5 separate regions of the Homo sapiens genome follow, and regions 1, 2, 3 and 5 are each linked to region 4. The links are contacts of gene promoters, found by promoter capture Hi-C in blood cells and fetal thymus (Javierre and others, 2016). All regions are on one chromosome and are shown on one strand. The core of a region is centred on a gene start or on the middle of the fragment in contact, and the rest is flanking DNA. Distances in the headings are between cores, read along the strand shown.

Region 1 (4,234 bases), core at 108-2,607, 260 kb after region 4:
CTCATATGTCAAAGCACCTAACGGTGCCTGGTACCTACCAGATCCTAAGGAAAGGGTAGGTGATCTCAAAAACAGTGCTTTCTAACTATGTTTGCTATCTCGGCCCAAATTTGAAATCAATACAGCGAGGGATCAAAATGGATACAGAATTTGTAGACTGAAGCAACTACTACAAAAGTGCAAAGCGATCCAGAAAATAGCCACACATTTGCTTGCTTTTTGGGTTTGCTAATTTGAAGTTAGAAAAAAGAACCACCTCACTAGAACCTTTAGATTTGCACATGAAAAAACGTATCCTTGTCTAGCTAACTGAAGATTCAACACAGTCATCTCACAATCCTGCCCCAACCCCTCCTCTATGGAAAGGACAATGCACCGGACAAAAGGCCATTTTGTCCAGGAAAAAGGAGGAATGTTACATCCAAAACATACTTTCTGAATTCCTACTATGTGCCTGACTCAGGCCTAGGAGCTGGGAATACAAAGATGCAGTCTTTGCCCTTGAGGATGGCAATACAACGGGAGACAGAGACAAGCAACAAACAATACACTGCGATGAGCTACAGCAGAAAAAAACTCTTAATTCAGAAGCGTTTCCTTGTAAGGTAATTCATATTTATTCAACTTGTACCCTACTCAAAGACCAAATTAAATTATTTCATTATTCCCAAGAACTTTCGAAGGGATAAAAAGGGTTCATGCCAACCATTACTAATGCCTACTAGTGCCACAGACTGGGAGCTCCCTGAGGGCAGGGATGGCGCTAACCTACCCTCGTATTCTCTGTGGCAGACAGACAAGTGCCGCACGAGGGATGCAGCAACCACAGAGGGATGCGGGGCTTGGAGGTAGGGTTGGGGCCGGGGCTGGCTCGAGCGCGCTCGGGACGTACAGGAAGGGGCCAGATGCGATGCTCCACGAGAGCACCAGGCACTCAGTCAAGAGTTGGGCGTAAGTTCGGGCCAAGGCCTCGAAGCGCTCCGGCGACTGGCTAATCGCTCAAAGGGGCTGCCTAAGTGAGCGCCTTTGAGCCCCCAACCCCGGGTTTCTTCAGTTCCTGGGCCTGGGCTCCAGGCTCTCGGTTCTTCAACACGTCGCCCGGCCCGGTGCAGCAAACAGTTTTTCCTCAACCATTCCGGGGTTTCTGAGCCGTTCGGCTCGCAGCAGAAAAGTAAAAAAAGAGCCGCCCTTCCAGCCCAGGCTAGCTCCGGCCGGGCCACTCTAGCCCTGGCCGCCCCGCCACTCACCAGGTTGGGCAGTCGAACAGCGGGAGGCTAGAGCCGGAGTTCGCGGCTGCCGCCATCTTGCGTCTCCCCCTCCCATTTGGCGCGCCCTAAGCACGCCGGGAAACTGGAAGACCGAGAAGGGAAAAGCGGCATCCCAGCAGCCTGTGCGTACGCACGCTCACGCACGCCCGTACGGGGGGCGGTGCTTCTAGTGGGGACAGAGGAGCTTTTGGGATTTTTTTTTTTTCAGCGTTTGTGCGAGTTGGCCGTCTCTGGAAGTCTCCAGTGGTTAGGGTTTTCCTTGGCCAGGAGGTGTCAAAGGAAAAGGGGCTTTGTAGGGAGGGGAGTCAGTCTTTCCCTACGTCCTCCTGCAAACGCTTCTTGGCTCTAAAATCTTGGGACTAAGCCGTGCGCGATGGCTCACGTCTGTAATCCCAGCACTTTCGGAGGCTGAGGCGGGCGGATCACTTGAGGTCGGGAGTTTGAGACCAGCCTGACCAACATGGTGAAACCCCGTCTCTACTAAAAATACAAAAATTAGTCGAGTGTAGTGGCACATGCCTGTAATCCCAGCTACTTGGGAGGCTAAGGCAGGAGAATCGCTTGCACTCGGGAGGCAGAGGTTGCAGTGAGCCGAGATCGCGCCATTGCACTCCAGCCTGGGCAACAGAGCGAGACTCCGTCTCAAAAAAAAAAAAAAAAAAAGTAAAGAAAGAAAAAATCTGGGGACTACATCCTCCTCCAGAGTTTAGGTTAAGACCGTCAGCCTTTTGCCCTCAAAGCGGAGAAGCTAAAGGGCAAAACTCGGAGATTGGAGTGATTATTGTTTCTCTTCAGCCCTTCTCCAAAAAGTGGCACCCTACTCACTTTTTTCTAATTCACGTTTAGGCCTGTAGATTGTCAGGGAATCTGCATTAGGGGTCACCTAGTCTGTTTATGAAAACTCTGGACAAGCAGGAGCCAGGAGCAGGTCCAGTCAGAAAGCAGGGGTCCAAATCATCACTGTGCTTGGCTCAAATGGTTAATTTTTTTAAAAAGGATTTTTTGCTTTTGGTTATAGGGCAAGGAAGCATAAGGATTGCTCGCTTGCCCTAGATCACCAGCTGGTTTTAAGAGACCATTAGCAGGGCCTCTGGTTTTTTATTTTTTATTTTTTTATTGATCATTCTTGGGTGTTTCTCGCAGAGGGGGATTTGGCAGGGTCATAGGACAATAGTGGAGGGAAGGTCAGCAGATAAACAAGTGAACAAAGGTCTCTGGTTTTCCTAGGCAGAGGACCCTGTGGCCTTCCGCAGTGTTTGTGTCCCTGGGTACTTGAGATTAGGGAGTGGTGATGACTCTTAATGAGCATGCTGCCTTCAAGCATCTGTTTAACAAAGCACATCTTGCACTGCCCTTTATCCATTTAACCCTGAGTGGAGAGAGCACAGGGTTGGGGGTAAGGTCATAGATCAACAGGATCCCAAGGCAGAAGAATTTTTCTTAGTACAGAACAAAATGAAAAGTCTCCCATGTCTACTTCTTTGTACACAGACACAGCAACCATCCGATTTCTCAATCTTTTCCCCACCTTTCCCCCTTTTCTATTCCACAAAACCGCCATTGTCATCATGGCCCGTTCTCAATGAGCTGTTGGGTACACCTCCCAGATGGGGTGGTGGCCGGGCAGAGGGGCTCCTCACTTCCCAGTAGGGGCGGCCGGGCAGAGGCGCCCCTCACCTCCTGGATGGGGCGGCTGGCCGGGCGGGGGCTGACCCCCCCCCCACCTCCCTCCTGGACGGGAGGGCCTCTGGTTTTAATGGCATTGTCTGTTCAGCAGTTACCTGGGCAAGTATGTATTTTATATGGATCATCTCACTTAATCCTGACAATACTCTTGAGTTAGGTATTATTATAATTCCAGAGGAGAGGCTTAGAGAGATTGAGTTACCCAGCTTCACCCTAGAACAAGTGGAGTGGGATCAAAAACCTAAACCTATATGATGCCGAAGGCCATGCTCATGAGTCACTATTCTCTCTTACACTTTGATGTTGGTATAATTATATTTATTATTAGCATGCAACTGATGCCCCTCTTTTTCACTTTTGTAGACGCGTTGGGAGGATTATCTGACCAGTTTTTCCTTTTTTAAATAAATCAATTGCTAAGTTCCTGTTCATCCAGAAAGAGGCACTGCTCAGCAAGTTGAGGAATCTATGATGAAAGTAGTTCTTTTCTTGCTTCCATGCTACTGGTTCTGTAGAAAATCAGCCTATTCAAAAGATTTTTGCCCTTGATGAAGTCTCCAGCCCTCAAGATTTAACTGCAATATAACTTAGAAGGAGTGAGAAGATCAAAAAAGTAACTGCAATATAACATTAACTTGGATTTTAAGATTATCAACTCTTAGGTAGACTGGAGAAACACCTTTTCCTCTGGCCTTTAAAGCACAATAAACTTATCCAGCAAGGATGGCGACTAATCAGATCACTTATCAAATGGCCTGTTAATATCCTCCTTTTCAGCCTTGTGATTCCAAAGTAAGACTAGGCTGATTGGAAAAATTCAAATTCTAAACTTGGTTTCAAGAAAACAGAAATAATCCTATGTCCCTCTCTTCTGAATACAGGGCATGATTTTTTAGAAGGAATTAGTCCCAAAAGTTTTTGAGTCTAACAGAAAAGAAGAAGATACTTTTACCTACAGAAATTGTGTGGGCCTTTGAGGTTCTATGCTCCTTTTAGGCATAACATGGTGTTGAAGCCATTTGCAGTTAGCAGTGACCTGATAGTATCTTATGGCAACTTTGTATTTCAACTTCTCAGCTTGTGTGATCCTTCTATTGCTGACTATAGACCCAGGAAACCTAAAAGCTACATCTTACCTTTCTAATTCTTTACTCCTTGGCCATGTTCTGTTTCTAGCACAGTAGATATTCACACGTGGCACCTTATGCTTACCTAGGCCCTCATAAAGCAAAATGCTCTTTGTTTGGGCACCAATGATGTCAGTATAGACCAGCAAACTA
Region 2 (3,774 bases), core at 1,139-3,638, 280 kb after region 4:
AGTTCAAGACCAGCCTGGCCAATATGGTGAAACCCCGTCTCTACTAAAAATACAAAAAAAATTAGCTGGACGTGGTGGCGGGCACCTGTAGTCCCAGCTACTCAGGAGGCTAAGGTAGGAGAATTGAATCAGGGAGGCGGAGGCTGCAGTAAGCTGAGATTGCGCCACTGCACTCCAGCCTGGACAACAGAGCAAGACTCCATCTCAAAAAAAAAAAAAAAAAAGAGTATATGAGATCTTTGAGAACGTTGCTAATCAATCTATTATCAATATATATTAAACTCTGGAGAGATGGGATTTGGCATAAACACACATAAACTAACCTTTCTTTTCTTTTCTTTTTTTTTTTTTGAGATGGAATCTTACTCTGGTCCCGAGGCTGGATCGAGTGGCACGATCTCGGCTGCACTACCACCTCTGCCTCCCAGGTTCAAGCGATTCTTCTGCCTCAGCCTCCTGAGTAGCTGGGACTACAGGTGCACGCCACCACGCCCAGCTAATTTTTGTATTTTTAGTAGAGACGGGGTTTCACCATATTGGCCAGGCTGCTCTCAAACTCCTGACCTCGTGATCCGCCTGCCTCGGCCTCCCAAAGTGTTGGGATTACAGGCGTGAGCCACAGCGCCCAGCCCACTAACCTTTATTTTCAAGAAGGCTGCTTCAAATCGTGGCAGATTTTGATTTAACAGAACTTATTGGGAACTATTATTCTGTATATTATTTTGTTTAATTCTTACAATAACTCTGATTTATCATAGTCTCCTCTTTGGCATATAATAACGTTTTTGAAAAATAGTCTTTCCAATGGTAATTTATCTAATACTATTGAATTAAGAAAGTTAGGCAAGCATATAGTGCTACTTTAAAAGAGAATTCACCAGGATTTTTGGCATTTGGTGAAAGACTAGCAATCGAATCTTTCAGGTGTTACTGTTTGATGAGGAAAAAGTATGCTTTATAATCAAGCTGTAAGAATAAATATCATTATTATTAAAAAATCAGTCTAATGGATGTATTACTTTTATAATTTAAAAACAGGCTGGGTGCGGTGGCTCATGCCTGTAATCCCAATCCCAGCACTTTGAGAGGCCGAGGTGGGCAGATCACTTTGAGGTCAGGAGTTTGTGACCAGCCTGGCCAACATGGTGAAACCCCGTCTCTACTAAAATACAAAAATTAGCCAGGCATGGTGGTGGGTGCCTGTAATCCCAGCTACTCGAGAGGCTAAGGCAGGAGAATTGCTTGAACCTAGAAGGCAGAGGTTGCAGTGAGCCAAGATCGTGCCACTGCACTACAGCCTGAGTGACAGAGTGAGACTCCCTCTCAGAATAAATAAATAAATAAATAAATAAATAAATAAATAAATAAATAAAAAACAAAGCAAAAATGGTAAAAATCAATGTATTTTCATTTTTAAAAAGCTTACCCTTTTTATAATAGCAATACAGGACAAGCAAAATGAAAAGAATTTCAAATTTCTATCCACTCAGAGGAACACTGTGGGTTTTTGGTTTGTTTTTTTCTTTTTACTTTATCTTTTTCCCCAGATCAAGAAATAACATTGCCAGAGTCCTAAAAGCCTACTCATGTGCCCTTCTCCAATCACAACTCCATCCCTCCCTTTTAAAGTATCTATTATCTTGACTTTGTGAAAATCATTTTCTTGCATTTTAAGAATAGTGAGCTATATTCTTATTCAATATCATTTTGCCTGTTTTTGAACTTTACATAAATGGAATTATACTGTTTATATTCTTTAGTGCTTTTTTTGAATCATTCCAGATTATGCCAGATCCATCTCTGATACTGAATGTAACTGTGGTTCAATCATTTTCTTTGCTGTATGATATTATAGTATATGAACATAACACAATTTATCCATTCTACAGTTGACAGACATCTGGATGTTTCCAATTTTTGACTACTACAAACAATGCTGCTATGCACATTCTTGTACATACATCCTGGTATAACACATACAGGTTTCTCTAGGGTAGAATTGCTGGATCACAAGGTCTGCATGTGTTCTGAAGATACAGCCAAAATGTTTTCCAAAGTAGTTGTTCTAACTTATACCACCGGCCAGATAAAAAAGTTCCTGTTGCATCATATCCATAATGACAACTCCCAGTGTTCACAGAATTTTAAACTTCTGCCCTCCTGGTGGGCATGAAATAGTATTTCATTGTTATTTTAATCTGTAATTTCACCATTACTAAAGAAGCTGAGTACCTTTTCATTTGTTTGACCATTACTCAAAATAATACTAACGTGTTTATTTGCTCCATGAGTGTAAATATCAACAGGACGGAGCAAAAGCAATGGTGGGGGACTGGTGGCGGGGAAGTGGGGATGGTTAATGGGCACAAAAAATAGGAAGAATGAATAGGACCTAGTATTTGATAGCACAAATGGGTGACTATCGTCAATAATAATTTAATTATATATTCAAAAATAACTAAAAGAGTATAATTGAATTGTCTGTAACATAAAGGATAAATGCTTGAGGGGATAGACACCCCATTTACCATGGTGTAATTATTACACATTACATGACTATATGAAAGTATCTCATGTACCTCATAAATATATACACCTACCATGTGCCCACAAAAATTAAAAATTAAAAAAAGGCAATGGTAGTGATATGGTTTGGCTCTATGTCCCCACTCAAATCTCGTCTCGAATTGTAATCCCAACGTGCGAAGGGAGGGACCTGGTGGGAAGTGATTGGATCATGGGGGTGTTAGTGTTCACGTGTTAGTGAGGGAGTTCTCATGAGATCCGGTTGTTTGGTAAGTGTCTGGTATTTCCCCTGCACTCTCTTTCTCTTTCTCCTGCCACCATGTAAGACATGCCTTGCCTCCCCTTAGCTTTCTACCATGGTTGTAAGTTTCCTGAGGCCTATCCAGCCACGCAGAACTGTGAGTCAATTAAACCTCTTTTATTTATAAAGTATCCAGTCTCAGGTAGTATCTTTATAGCAGTGTGAAAATGGACTAATACAGATAGATAAAATGGCTGAAGGCAGTGGCACCGAATTGCACTAGTATTATTGTATTCTTCATCACCACACACTCACCGTATTTTAAAAGCCAATGTATTCTTGAAGCCATACAAATTATTAATTAAACCTTGACCCCTCAATACATATCTTTCTACTATTCTGTATTGTGAAATGGGAAGTGCACATAAAGTACTTCTGCTGCATAAAGAAATACAATGTCTGTCTCTAGGAAAAGCACTTGTGTAATGGAACTGCAGGCTGAACTAGCCACTTTTTTTAGGGAATACCATTTTTACTTATTCAATATAGTTTTATAAGAACTTACTAAAAACTTATTTAAAAGCTTTAAAACTTTCATAAACGTATACATATAAACTTTTCAGATGGGTATTTGGCAGACAACTTGTTGAAAAGAAGTATGAGCCTGTCACTTCAAGGAAAACAACAGAGGGTGTTTGTTGCCAATGACAAAAATGTAGCTTTCAAGTAAAAATAAAAATAAAATTTCGGAAGACTTGTATCTACCATTGTAAGAGTTTCCCAATATTTAAATACTTTTCTGGTGAAACTGATGGAAATATGTATTTTTTTATATTGTAAAATGAAATGTATCGACATTTGGAAGAGCTGCATAACTCAGGGAACCAATACTATCCAAATGATAAATACATGATGCTATAAAAATCATGCATGGATAAAAGATCCAATCAAAGTATAATATAGACCAACAGATGTTAATGTAACAGAGTATGAAGTCATTATAATGG
Region 3 (4,225 bases), core at 641-3,140, 490 kb before region 4:
TGCAGTGGCACGATCTCGGTTCACTGCAACCTCTGCCTCAGCCTCCCGAGTAGCTGGGATTATAGGCGCCCGCCACCATGTCTGGTTAATTTTTTATATTTTTAGTAGAGACGGGGTTTCACCATCTTGGCCAGGCTGGTCTTGAACTCCTGATCTCGTGACCCACCCGCCTTGGCCTCCCAAAGTGCTGGGATTACAGGCATGAGTTACTGTGCCTGGCCTTATTTATTTTTAAAGGCAGGGTCTCACTTTGTTGCCCAGGCTGACCTCCAGCTCCTGGACAGAAGTGATCCTCCTGTTTCAGCTTCCCAAGTAGCTGGACTACAGGTGATCCACTGCATCTGCCTTAATATAATATGTATATCTATCTATCTATATATACACACACATAGATATAGATAGATATATATAGATATATTTTTTGAGAGGGAGTCTCGCTGTATCACCCAGGCTGGAGTGCAGTGGCATGATCTTGGCTCACTGCAACCTCTGCCTCCCAGGTTCGAGCGATTCTTATGCCTTAGCCTCCCAAGTAGCTGGGACTGTAGATGAGTGTCACCATGCCTGGGTAATTTTTTTTTTTTGTATTTTTAGTAGAGATGGGGTTTTGTCATGTTGGCCAGGCTGGTCTCTAGTTCCTGATGTCAGGTAATCCACCTGCCTTGGCCTCCCGAATTGGTGGGAGCTACTGCGCCTGGGAGATATACATTTTTTCTTAATGGTTTTTTGACAGCTTTATTGAGGCATAATTGACACAGAATAAACTGCACAAGCCTGGGCGAAAAAGCGAGACTTCATCTCCAAAAAAAAAAAAAAAAGTTTAATAATTTTACTTTTTTTCTTTTTTTTTTGAGACGGAGTCTCGCTCTTGTCGCCCAGGCTGGAGTGTAATGGCTCCATCTTAGCTCACTTCAACCTCCGCTTCCCAGGTTCAAACGATTCTCCTGCCTCAGCCTCCCAAGTAGCTGGGATTACAGGCGCCTGCCACCACGCCCAGCTAATTTTTGTATTTTTAGTAGAAACGGGTTTTCACCATGTTGGCTAGGCTGGACTTGAAATCCTGACCTCAGGTTATCTGCCCCCTCGGACTCCCAAAGTGCTGGAATTACAGGTGGGAGCCACCGCGCCCAGCATAATTATTAAGCTTTTAAAGCGTAAACAAACGGCCGGGCGCGGTGGCTCGTGCCTGTAATCCCAGCACTTTGGGAGGCCGAGGCGGGTGGATCACGAGGTCAGGAAATCGAGACCATCCTGCCCAACATGGGGAAACCCTGTCTCTACTAAAAATACAAAAAATTAGCCGGGCGTGGTGGCGGGCGCCTGTAATCCCAGCTACTTGGGAGGCTGAGGCAGGAGAATGGCGTGAACCCGGGAGCGGGAGCTTGCAGTGAGCTGAGATGGCGCCACTGCACTCCAGCCTGGGCGACAGAGCAGCTCCGTCTCAAGAAAAAAAAAAAAAAGCATAAACTACAAAAAAAAAAATTGACTCTTAGACTTCATAAAAATTAAAAAACTTTTAGCAGGCTGGCTGGCGTGTGGAGACCAGACTGTCGGGAGCAACAGCAGGATCTGGGAGATAAGAGACTATTGCTATCATCTGGGTCAACGATTAGGGTAACATCAGTGGAAGGGGTAAGAAACAGTCAGATTATTGATACATTTTAAAGGTAGAGCACACAGGAGTTGCTGATGGCTTGGACATGTGATGTTAGAGAAAGAGAGGAGTCCAGGACCACAGGCATGCGCCCCCACGACCTGCTAAAGTAGTACTTACTTTTTATTTTATTTTATTTTTTTGAGACAGAGTCTCGTTCTGTTGCCCAGGCTAGAGTGCAGTGACGCGATCTCGGCTCTCTGCAAGCTCCGCCTCCCGGGTTCACGCCATTCTCCTGCCTCAGCCTCCCGGGTAGCTGGGACTACAGGCGCCCGCGACCACGCCCGGCTAATTTTTTTTTGTATTTTTTTTTAGTAGAGACCGGGTTTCGCCGTGTTAGCCAGGATGGTCTCGATCTCCTGACCTCGTGATCCACCCGCCTTGGCCTCCCAAAGTGCTGGGATTACAGGCGTGAGTAACCGCACCCGGCAGTAGTACCTACTTTTTAAAGTGTAAGCAAGGAAAGTTGGCCCGCACCTGTAGTCCCATCTACCTGGGAGGCTGAGGTGGAAGAATTGCTTGAGCCCAGTTGGTCGAGGCTGCAATGAGCCTTGATCACGCCACTGCACTCCAGCCTGGGCAACAGAACAAGACCCTGTCTCAAACAAAAAAGTGTATGTAAGAATAAAAATTAATAGATTAGGCACAGGATGGGTGTTTAATTCTCGGCAATCACCACTAAGTTTTCATACTGAGGCTTATTCATTCCATGGGCAAAACATTGCGCTATGTGTGGTGCCTGGGGTGGGCTCCAAATTCCAGTCCTCTCCTCGCTTGCGATAGCTGTGTGATCCATTCCTAAGTTTCCTTATTTGTCCACAGAGCGTACACAGGGTTTTTATGAAAACTAGATCAGATAATCAGACACAGTTAAAATAGCACGCGCTCAGTAAAATTACATATTAGTGGAAGAGACAAGCCTTGAATAAATCGCCTTTCGGGGAGTATGACCCCCTCCCCGAAACCCACTCAGGCGCTGCTCGCTCGCACGCCCACTGAGCTCGGAGCGGAGCCCGAGCCCTTTCCCAGCACACAGGGTTCATTTCCAGACTGAAAGACATCCCAGAGACAACTCCAGAGGCCAAGGCGGGTCGGCTTCCTGCGTGGGCCCAGCGCCGGGCACTGAAAGGTGAAGGCGCTTCTTCCGCTCGGAGGAAAGCCTCTGGCGGTTCTCGCTTCGCGGGCTCGGGATGGACACGCGCGTAGGGCTGGGGAGGTGACGCGCGGACAACGCCGGGGCGAGCAAACTACAACTCCCAGGCAGCTGTGCGCCACGCGGGCGGCCTACTGTCGGGTGTGGCCGCGAGGGGCGGCCTATATAAGCTCTTGCTCGCGGCTTCAGCGCCCTTTCTCCCCGCCGCATTCCCGGTGTCGACTTACTAGCTGCAAGCCTCTGCCTGCCTTCCTGCGCGCCGTTCCCCGCTAGTCGCTGCTGCTGGCGCGCACTCGCCGGGTTTTTCCTCCCACGGCCTCGAGATGGTGGTGAATGTGGCACGGAGGAGCCGGGCCTTCCAACCCGGTGGGCCCGAGCTCCGAAAGGCCCCCTCGGCAGTGAGAGGGGCGGGAGCCCGCGGGGGCCGCGCCCTTCTCTCGCTTCGGACTGCGCAACGCTGCGCTCTGGGCTGACAGGTGAGTGTTGCAGGCAGGCGGCCGGGTTTACGGAAGGGGTGGGGGTTTGGGAACCGGTCTCCTGGGGGATGCGGGGATGAATCCCTGGGCCTGAAGTGTCTTAATTCAGGGGGAGGCCGCATGCTGGTGTCAGGATGGCCTCCAGTTGAATCTGTGACATTTACCAGCTAGGTGATTTTGGGACTGGTGACTACGCGCGAGACCTCTGGAGGTCGCCCTGGTAGACACGGTTTTCAGAAGGACGGGTTTTAGGCATTCAGACCCTTGCGTGCATCCCAGCTTGTTGCTTTCAGCCTCGCTAAGTGACTAAGCGACCTTCAGGAAGTAACTTAATCGGTCTAAACCTCTTACCTGTAATAGGCGGATAAAACGGTCCCATCAAGACTGAGAAAAAGCACACCAGCTATTGGCACAGCGTGGGCAGTGGGGCCTACAGGATGACTGACTTAGTCTACAGAGATCCCGGCGTACTTAAGCAGGTAGTAATGATGGACAGGTGAGGCTTTAGGCGGCCGCCCTGGGATCTGAATTGCCCCTTGGCCCTTATCGAAGCTGCAGCTGCTTCCGCATAGCTGCTGTGGTCAAAAAGGAGCCCAGAGTGACAGTTTTCCTTGACGGTCGCCGTTCTGTTTGTTGTAACTGATCTGCAACATTTTGGGAAAATACAGTTCCATTGTACCTGCCACCTTTCAGCTGTAGCCAGAGACCTTTATCAAAATGGGCTTGTTTCCACAGAACAGCAGAACGGTTGGGGGTTTGCATGTACAGTTAACCAGCATAAGACTCGTACTGGGAAAATCCAGCTGGGATGTGACACAGCTTAACTGATAGCTTAAGGCATCAGTATTGGGACCAAAGGCTGGTCAGATTTGTATCATTCTGAGGACCAAATGATGGGAACAATAAAATTGTTCATGACAGTTGTTCTCATTTTGCTGTCCA
Region 4 (3,981 bases), core at 1,463-3,962:
CCTTCATTCAACAAACATTTACTGAGTGCCTACAGTGTGCCAGGCTCCATTCTGGTGCTGAAAAAACATCCGTGAACAAATCGGACAAACATCCATGGACTCATGGAACTTACATTCTGGCAGGGGGAGAGAGACACTAAGCCAAATTTACAAGCAACTTGTTGGATGGGAAAGTACAAAGAGGATGGTAGTGTTCCAATTTTTAATGTAGTGTCAGGGAAGATCTCATTGAGAAAGTGACATGTGAATAAAGATGTAAATGAGGTGAGCGGATGAATGATGCAGGTATCTGGGGGAAGAGCACTCCAGGCAGATGGATTAAAAAGCACAAAGGCCCTGGGCCTACCTGTAGTTTTGAGGAATGGCAGAGGCCAATGTGCTTTAAGGGGAAGGATGACAGAAGGAGTAGGAGTTGAGGTTAGAGCAGAGCTGTACTGGAGGTGTCAAATCTTGAGGGTCCTGTAGACCAATGTAAGGATTTTGGTTTTTACTCTGAAATAGGAATGCATTGGAGGAAGGATATGATCTAATTAGGGTTTTAACAGGAGCCCATTGCTACTATATTAATAGATTGTGGGGGCCGGGCGTGGAGGCTCACACCTGTAATCCCAGCACTTTGGGAGGCTGAGGCGGGTGGATCACTTGAGGCCAGGAGTTCAAGACCAGTCTGGCCAACATGGCAAAACCCCGTCTCTACTAAAAATATAACAATTAGCCGCGCGTGCTGGCGGGCCCCTGTAATCCCAGCTATTCAGGAGGCTGAGGCAGGAGAACCCAGGAGGCAGAGGTTGCACTGAGCCAAGATCAGGCCAGTACACTCCAGCCTGGGTGACAGAGGGAGGCTCTGTCTGAAAAAAAAAAAAAAAAAAAGATTGTGGGAAGGCAAGAGTATAAATAGGGCACTCACAGTCACTGACTGACTGGTTTATACCAACGGAGGCAGTAAATGGTCAGGTTCTGGACAGATTTTGAAGGCAAATCTTGCAGAACTTGCTGATGGAGTACATGTGGGATATGAGAGAGGAGTTAAGGATCTTAGTAAATGATGTTGCTTAGTACATTGTTGTCATCGGAAGAGGTGATCAAATATACAGTCAAAAAATGTAGAAAAAATAGTTTTTTTTCTGGATTTTGTTATTCGTGGTATTTGTGAGCTAATAAAAATGTTTGTAATTTTTCTCATTATAAAAGGTTCACTTTTATATCTAATATTGTATTTGTAATTTTGGATTTTTTTTTTTTTTAGACAGTCTCGCTCTGTTGCCCAGGCTGGAGTGCAGTGGCATAATCATAACTCACCGCAGCCTCTACCTCCTGGGCTCAGTTAGGTGCGTGCCACCACACCTGGCTAATTTTTCTGGGTTTTTTTTGTTGTTGTTTTGCTTTGTTTGTTTTGTAGAGACAGGGTCTAATTTTGTTGCCCAGGTGATCTCCAACTCCGGGGCTCAAGCAACCGGTCGACCTCGGCGTCCCAAAGTGCTAGGATTTCAGGCATGAGCCACTGTGCCTGGCCTTGATTATTTTAAAGAGGGCCCCCAAATTGAATAAACGTCAAGTCTCCACAAAGCCTGAATTCAACCTTGCTTCTAGCCCATACTTGGGTTGTAATTTAAAATTAACGAAACATTTAAGAATTTTGCTTCCGAAAACAGTGTGCACGAAGTGAATTGTAAGCCTAATATAATATTAAGAATAAACTAAATTTGGGGATAAAAAGATCACCTTGGGGCTCACGCCTGTAATCCCAGCACTTTGGGAGGCCAAGGGATCAACCGAGCTCCAGAGTTGGAGACCAGCCTGGGCAACATGGCGAAACCCCGTCTCTACCGAAAAATACAAAAATTAGCCGGGCGTGGTGGTGCGCGCCGGTAGTCTTAGCTACTCGGGAGGCTGAGGTGGGAGGATCACTTGAACCCAGGAGGCGGGGGTTGCAGTGAGCCGAGATCGCGCCACTGCACTCCAGCCTGGGCGACAGAGCAAGACTCTGTCTCAAAAAAAGAAAAAAAAAAAGGGATGGGCGCGGTGGCTCACGCCTGTAATCTCAGCACTTTGGGAGGCCCAGGCGGGCGGATCACCTGAGGTCGGGAGTTCAAGACCAGCCTGACCAACATGGAGAAACCCCGTCTCTACTAAAACTACAAAATTAGCCGGGCGTGGTGGCACATGCCTGTAATCCCAGCTACTCGAAAGGCTGAGGCAGGAGGATCGCTTGAACCCGGGAGGCGGAGGTTGCAGTGAGCCGAGATCGCGCCATTGCACTCCAGCCTGGGCAACAAGAGCGAAACTCCGTCTCAAAAAAAAAAAAAAAAAAAGATCACCTTGGGCTAGCCTCCCAAATGTCTTCCAAAACTTCCCACTCATTCTCCTTCCCAGTTTTTCTAAATCTACCAAATGCACCCAACACTTCTTACGTTCCTTTTAGCCAGGTAGGGATTACGCGCATTTTTAAAGACCTCCTTAAAAGTGAAGGCTGTAGTACCGTCAGGACTGCCTAGCGCTCACCCAGAAGCTGCTTGTCTCCGAGGCACTAAGAGGGGCGTGGCCATGGGCGTGGCTCGCCGGGCCGGCGGAGTGGGCGGAGCCTAAAAGCTTCCCCGCCCGGTCAGACTCAACACATGCGCCCAGAGGTTTCTAGTGGAACGAGGTGTGGATTGTGAGGTGACTCTGGCCGCTTACTTCCGGTTCCTAGCGATGCGCATCCGGGTCACGCTAACGCCGCGGTTTCCTCCGCTCGATTGGTTCTACTGTGGGTCTGGACTGATCTCCATGTCCTGTTGTGGGGCTTTTACAGCCTTTGGGTGAGTCTCAGCTGCCAACAGGGTCTGAGCGCAGCCGGGCGAGCACAGCGTGAAGGGGGATGGGTCTAGAGTTCTGCCTCGGTCCTTGTGGGTGGGAGTCTCTTCGCCTGTCCCTTGTCACTGCAGTGCTTCACTCACCTCAGCCCTTTCCTTCACGCTGGCCTCGCCTTATTCACCTCAGCTTAGCCTTCTCGCGCTTCCGTGCCTCTGTCGCCTCGCTGTTTTTCCTCAGCCTCATCAGTCCTTTTCCAACCTCGGTTTCTTGCCTTACGCCTCAGCGCTTCTCTCAGCCACTGCCTCTCCTTTTTTCTCCTCCTCCCTTCTTTTAGAACCTCTTTTCCCCTACCCCTGATCTGGGATCTCAGCGTTCTTTCACCTAGCGAGACGGCCCAGCTTCTCATTGTGCTCACTCTTCACCACGAGAAACTGAGCCTCTCCCTAGGGTCCTAGTTCCTTGTCCCCCAACTTTCTTCAGCTTTGATCCTTCCTCCTGGGACCAGTAGGTGACAGTGCTTCTCCTGGGGTTCTTCTGCCTGTCCTTAGCTAGAGGAGAGCTTTGCCAAAGCCCCGAAATGGGAAGACTTCCCCAGCCTGGGGGAAGTTTTGCCTTAAGGCGCCGGGTTAGACTGAACTCTGGTAGCTTCCATAGTTAGGGTACAACAAAGGCGTTCCTAGTTCTTCGCTTTACCTCAGTTTTGGGGCTCTCTCAAGAGCAGCTAACAGGTGGCAGGCACACGGTACTGCTAGCAGTTGGGCTGGCGCGATCTTGTTAATTGACAAGTCATGAAGAAGTTCTGTCAGTTTTGTGTTCCCATGAGAATGGATGTGCACAGCTGAGGCAAAAACGCCAATATTTTGGGACGTTCAGCTCTGTTTTCGGCATGGACGCTTCTTACAGGACACTTGTGATGATAGAGGACAGAATTTGTGGAGAGATCATTAGCCCCAGATTTATGAATTTATTGTGTTGTTTCCGAAAAGTGGTCTGCTGAAGAGTTCACTATAGTAATTTCAAAGTAATCTTTAAACTTAGTATGCACATATGCATTTTTTCATTTTTACTGTATTAAGTTTTCTATTTGTCTTCCTCTTCCTTCATTAGCCAGACTTTACTTAGAATTACATTACTTAGAAGTACATTACTTAGAATATTCTTCTAACTTTTGTATTTTTTTTTCCTTAC
Region 5 (3,915 bases), core at 1,328-3,827, 330 kb after region 4:
GTCTGGGCAACATACTGAAACCTCATCTCTACAAAAAATAAACAAAATTAGCCAGGAATGGTGGTACATGCCTGTAGTCCAAACTACTTGGAAGGCTGAGGTGGAAGGATCAATTGAGCCTGGGAGGTCAAAGGGGCAGTGAGCTGAGATCGCACCACTGTACTCTGGCCTAAGTGACAGAGACTGTCTCAAAAAATTTTTTTTGGCCAGGCACAGTGGCTCACACCTGTAATCCCAGCACTTTGGGAGGCTGAGGCGGGCGTATTACCTGAGGTCAGGAGTTCGACACCAGCCTGGCCACCATGGTGAAATCCCGTCTCTACTAAAAATACAAAAAAATTAGCTGAATGTGTTGGTGCGCCACCTGTAGTTCCAGCTACTTGGGAGGCTGAGGCTGGAGAATCACTTGATCCCAGAAGGCAGAGGTTGCAGTGAGCCGAGATCATGCCACTGCACTCCAGCCTGGGTGACAGAGCATGACTCCATTAAAAAAAAAAAAAGTTTTTTTTAAATCAAGGAACAATGGTGGTGTGGTGGTGTCCAATATTCCACTAAATGGAAGCCCCATAAGTACAATAACTTGGTTTTGTCACTGCTGTAACCGCGCTGCCTAGCACAGTGCCTATCACAACATGAGCACTTACACTGGGTAAACAGAATCACCAAGAGGCTGGGTGTGGTAGCTCATGCCTGTAATCCTAGCACTTTGGGAGGCTGATGAGGTGGGTGGATGGCTTGAGTCCAGGAGTTGGAGACCAGCCTGGATGGCAAAACCCTATCTTCACAAAAAATACAAAAATTAGCTGGGTATGGTGGCGTGCATCTGTAGTCCCAGCTACTTGGGAGGCTGAGGTGGGAGAATCCCCAGGAAGTCGGGGCTGCAGTGATCTACTTGCCACTGTACTCCAGCCTGGATGACTGAGTGAGACTCTGTCTCAAAACAGTCATAGAAGAGAGAAAGAAAGAGTTTATTCTCTAATGGACAGGAAATTCCCAATTAGCAGTTAGGCTTTTAATTTTTTAAGTCTATAAGCAAGACAAACTTTTCTAGGCTGAAGGGCTGAAGGGGATAACGGGGTATGTCTACTGGTAAACAGCAAGAAATAAAAACAAAATCCAACAATTACACTTGAGTCAATATGAATTTTTATTAACACACATTTGTCAAAGTCTGTACAAACCAAAACATTCCTGTGTTTTAAAATGTCCATTATTACAAACATACAAAGAAACAAAAGGTGTTACCAAAAGTTAGCTACTCAATTTCATGGTAAAACAGTGTCATGATTTTTAAAAATCAAAATTTCAAGACTGAGGTTTCTTCTTTCCCTTTTTGGAACTTATGGAAAGTTAGAAAACGTGTGAATTTGCTTTATATTAAATGCCAAGACCTTAAAAAAAGATTTAGTATAAAACTAAGTATGTTTTTATATTGTCATACATCATGTAACAGAATTTCAGTCCTTAAAATTAAAAAAAAACACCATGACTGTCATTTCCCCCTAATTTTTCTCCCATAGTCAATGCAAATGCATCTGAAAAATATTATGACAGTTTATCTTTACCTAAAAGCTTCTCATTCAAAAACTTTACAAAACTATTTAGCACTGCCATTTCCCTTGCTTAGAAGGGAAAATTATATCCCCTAGTAGGGTGATATATAAGCGACATGGTCCACTGTATCCCTTATCAGAAGGAAACCACCATTTCCACATCTCTGTCCAATTATGTGTAGGACTCCATTTATGAGAATGCTATCACAAATTATAGAGCATCTGCTTCCAGGAAACGCCTAGAAGTTAAATTTAGTACTATAATTTTTTGGTAGACTGAGGTACAAATGTTATCTGCCCTCATTATTATTTCTAACTCTAGTACCCCCTGCATAAATGATTCTAGGGTAGTTGGTTTTGTTGTTTCATGGCACACATGACACACCCTAATTCCTTTCACAAACATCACATAGAGGACCTGAGAGTATGCCTAGAAATGTAAATCTATCCCCTTTCCTGGAAAAGTAAATCCATATTCCTACAGGGTTAAGAAGGGAAGATAGGCAGGGCATACATAACTCTGGTTGAGGCAAAGTGCTTCTGAGAAGCACCTGTTTTCAATACATATCCATGAAAAGCAGGGAGTGTATGGGCTCGGGTGGGTGAGGAGTGGGGAGAAGGTATAGTGATACCACTTTTCCCAGACTCAAGAGTCCTTACTAGAGCAGCTCATGCTGACCCCAAAAATGCTCTGTAGTTCAAATATTATTCCTTTTTTTTTTTTTTTTGAGACGGAGTCTCACTCCATTGCCCAGGCTGCAGTGCAGTGTTGCGATTTCAGCTCATTGCAACCTCTGCCTCCCGGGATTCGAGCAGTTCTCCTGCCTCAGCCTCCTGGGTAGCTGGGATTACAGGTGCATGCCACCAGGCCCGGCTAATTTTTGTATTTTTTTAGTACAGATGGGGTTTTACCATGTTGGCCAGGATGGTCTCAAACTCCTAACCTCAAATGATCCACCCGCCTTGGCCTCCCAAATTGCTGGTATTACAGGCGTGAGCCACCGCACCCGACCATATTATTCCATTTTTAATCTGTTCATTCATGTAAAAAAACATTCTCTGACAGCAGCCCAGTATGACAACTGATATAAGCAAATAAAGGATTTTATTTTTTAAAGAAGTGGCAGTGTGAGAATTTAAAATCAATCACATAAAACAATCAGGAAAGGGGTGGGGAGAGAAGTGTCCAGTACAACCTGGACAACCTTGCTTTCTGCCCTTACTTAAAAAGACAGACGGTTCAAATCTTTGCTACCTCCCTTAAGTATCTCCATAAATGCTCTTCCAAGAAATCCTCCAAAAGGCACTTAGCTCCATACTTATGCATTGAATTGTTTCACCTTAGCAATCAGTTTTTAAGACTCCAAGGTAACAAGAAAGAAAAGATCTGATTCTTTTACTAAAAGCTAGTGAATAGGACTGTTTTTTTTTCAAGAGGCATCACTTTTACAAGAACTAGCTAGACCACCATTATTCCTTTATCAAGAAAAAGTTTCTTTTTTAAAAAATAAATAAAACTCTGGCTATACATAGTACAAAGTTCATACATAATACATCTGGAAAAAAACCGAAGAGTATACCCTGAAGCAAAAGGTTTATTGGAGAGAGAAAGCCTCTTCCATTATACCAAGTCTGAAGATGGCAGTTTTCAAAGTTCAGAGGGTGGCAGTGATATATAATTAATGCCAAACTGTTTGCTCATGGGTATGGCAGGATGCAATGAAGGACCAAAAAAAAAAAAAAAAACAAAAAACAAATCATTCTGCACATTACACTGAGCAGTGACCACCACAAAAAAAAAAAAAAAAAAAAAAAGAAAAAAGAAAAAAAAAGAATAGAACCAAAATAGAGAGAAGAGGAAGAAGAAAAAGAAAAGTCCTAATAGTGAGAGAAAGAGAGCGAGCTTGAAATCCCAAACACTCAAGCATGCAGTCTAACACAGCACAAACCAGGTGTTTCCATTCAGCCCACTGCAATCGCACAAAGAAGGATAACTGTAATAAAATAGAGATTTCTTAAGAAAGCTTGCAATTCCCACAGAACAGCCAGGTCTCCAACCCTAACCCTGGACAACTCCATTTGCTGTTGCTAGGGAGCCTCCTTGAGGTCTGTCATGGAGAGGTTATAGCTCCTGACTTCTCTGACTTCTTGCTCTTGGACAAAGCAGCTGCCTGCTTCAGGAGCTCTCGGTTTTTGGCCTAAAGAAAAAAAAAATCAGTGCAAGAAGGATGTTTCAAACAGGATATAAGCTATTTTTCATGCAGAGTAAGTGCAGATGCTAAGGCAGACAATGTGGAGGGTCAGAAAGAGATGAACAATTCTAGAGGTGGAAAACAACAGGAAGCTCTAGGGCTTGAAACTT

Evidence for each region. Contacts are between HindIII fragments. The CHiCAGO score rates a contact against its expected background, and 5 or more counts as called.
Region 1: a contact is called between the fragment with the promoter of PPP1R8 here and the fragment with the promoter of EYA3 in region 4, in 1 of 17 cell types (M2 macrophages). The highest score is 5.8, in M2 macrophages.
Region 2: a fragment that was not itself captured here is called in contact with the fragment with the promoter of EYA3 in region 4 in 2 of 17 cell types (M2 macrophages and M1 macrophages); the score reaches 7.5 in M2 macrophages.
Region 3: a contact is called between the fragment with the promoter of SNHG12 here and the fragment with the promoter of EYA3 in region 4, in 13 of 17 cell types (fetal thymus, non-activated CD4 T cells, activated CD4 T cells and 10 more). The highest score is 16.2, in fetal thymus.
Region 5: a contact is called between a fragment that was not itself captured here and the fragment with the promoter of EYA3 in region 4, in 2 of 17 cell types (M2 macrophages and M1 macrophages). The highest score is 5.5, in M2 macrophages.

The regions. Positions count from the first base shown.
Region 1 is chr1:27,827,905-27,832,138 of GRCh38, reverse strand. PPP1R8 (protein phosphatase 1 regulatory subunit 8) reads right to left here and starts at 1,357. Exons shown (of 7, transcript NM_014110.5): 1 at 1,248-1,357. The coding sequence starts at 1,303. LOC124903885 (a long non-coding RNA gene) reads left to right here and starts at 356. Exons shown (of 2, transcript XR_007065562.1): 1 at 356-1,390; 2 at 3,318-4,234. RefSeq lists enhancers at 308-1,092, 1,050-1,219, 1,093-1,878 and a silencer at 1,350-1,429. The HindIII fragment of the contact is 9,216 bases long and covers 1-4,234 here.
Region 2 is chr1:27,805,911-27,809,684 of GRCh38, reverse strand. The region is part of intron 4 of STX12 (syntaxin 12); the gene reads right to left. Among named protein-coding and RNA genes, the nearest start is that of PPP1R8, 23 kb to the left of the region's middle. RefSeq lists an enhancer at 1,971-2,494. The HindIII fragment of the contact is 1,929 bases long and covers 1,424-3,352 here.
Region 3 is chr1:28,580,648-28,584,872 of GRCh38, reverse strand. SNHG12 (small nucleolar RNA host gene 12) reads left to right here and starts at 1,890. Exons shown (of 6, transcript NR_146382.1): 1 at 1,890-2,783; 2 at 3,644-3,762. It overlaps SNORA16A (small nucleolar RNA, H/ACA box 16A), which reads left to right and starts at 3,820; the gene lies at 3,820-3,953. RefSeq lists enhancers at 2,723-3,508, 3,509-4,225. The HindIII fragment of the contact is 3,732 bases long and covers 1,147-4,225 here.
Region 4 is chr1:28,087,341-28,091,321 of GRCh38, reverse strand. EYA3 (EYA transcriptional coactivator and phosphatase 3) reads left to right here and starts at 2,712. Exons shown (of 18, transcript NM_001990.4): 1 at 2,712-2,798. RefSeq lists enhancers at 2,773-2,842, 3,053-3,112. The HindIII fragment of the contact is 6,678 bases long and covers 2,592-3,981 here.
Region 5 is chr1:27,760,331-27,764,245 of GRCh38, reverse strand. FAM76A (family with sequence similarity 76 member A) reads right to left here. Exons shown (of 9, transcript NM_152660.3): 9 at 1,130-3,751. The coding sequence ends at 3,665. Among named protein-coding and RNA genes, the nearest start is that of STX12, 11 kb to the left of the region's middle. The HindIII fragment of the contact is 2,005 bases long and covers 1,575-3,579 here.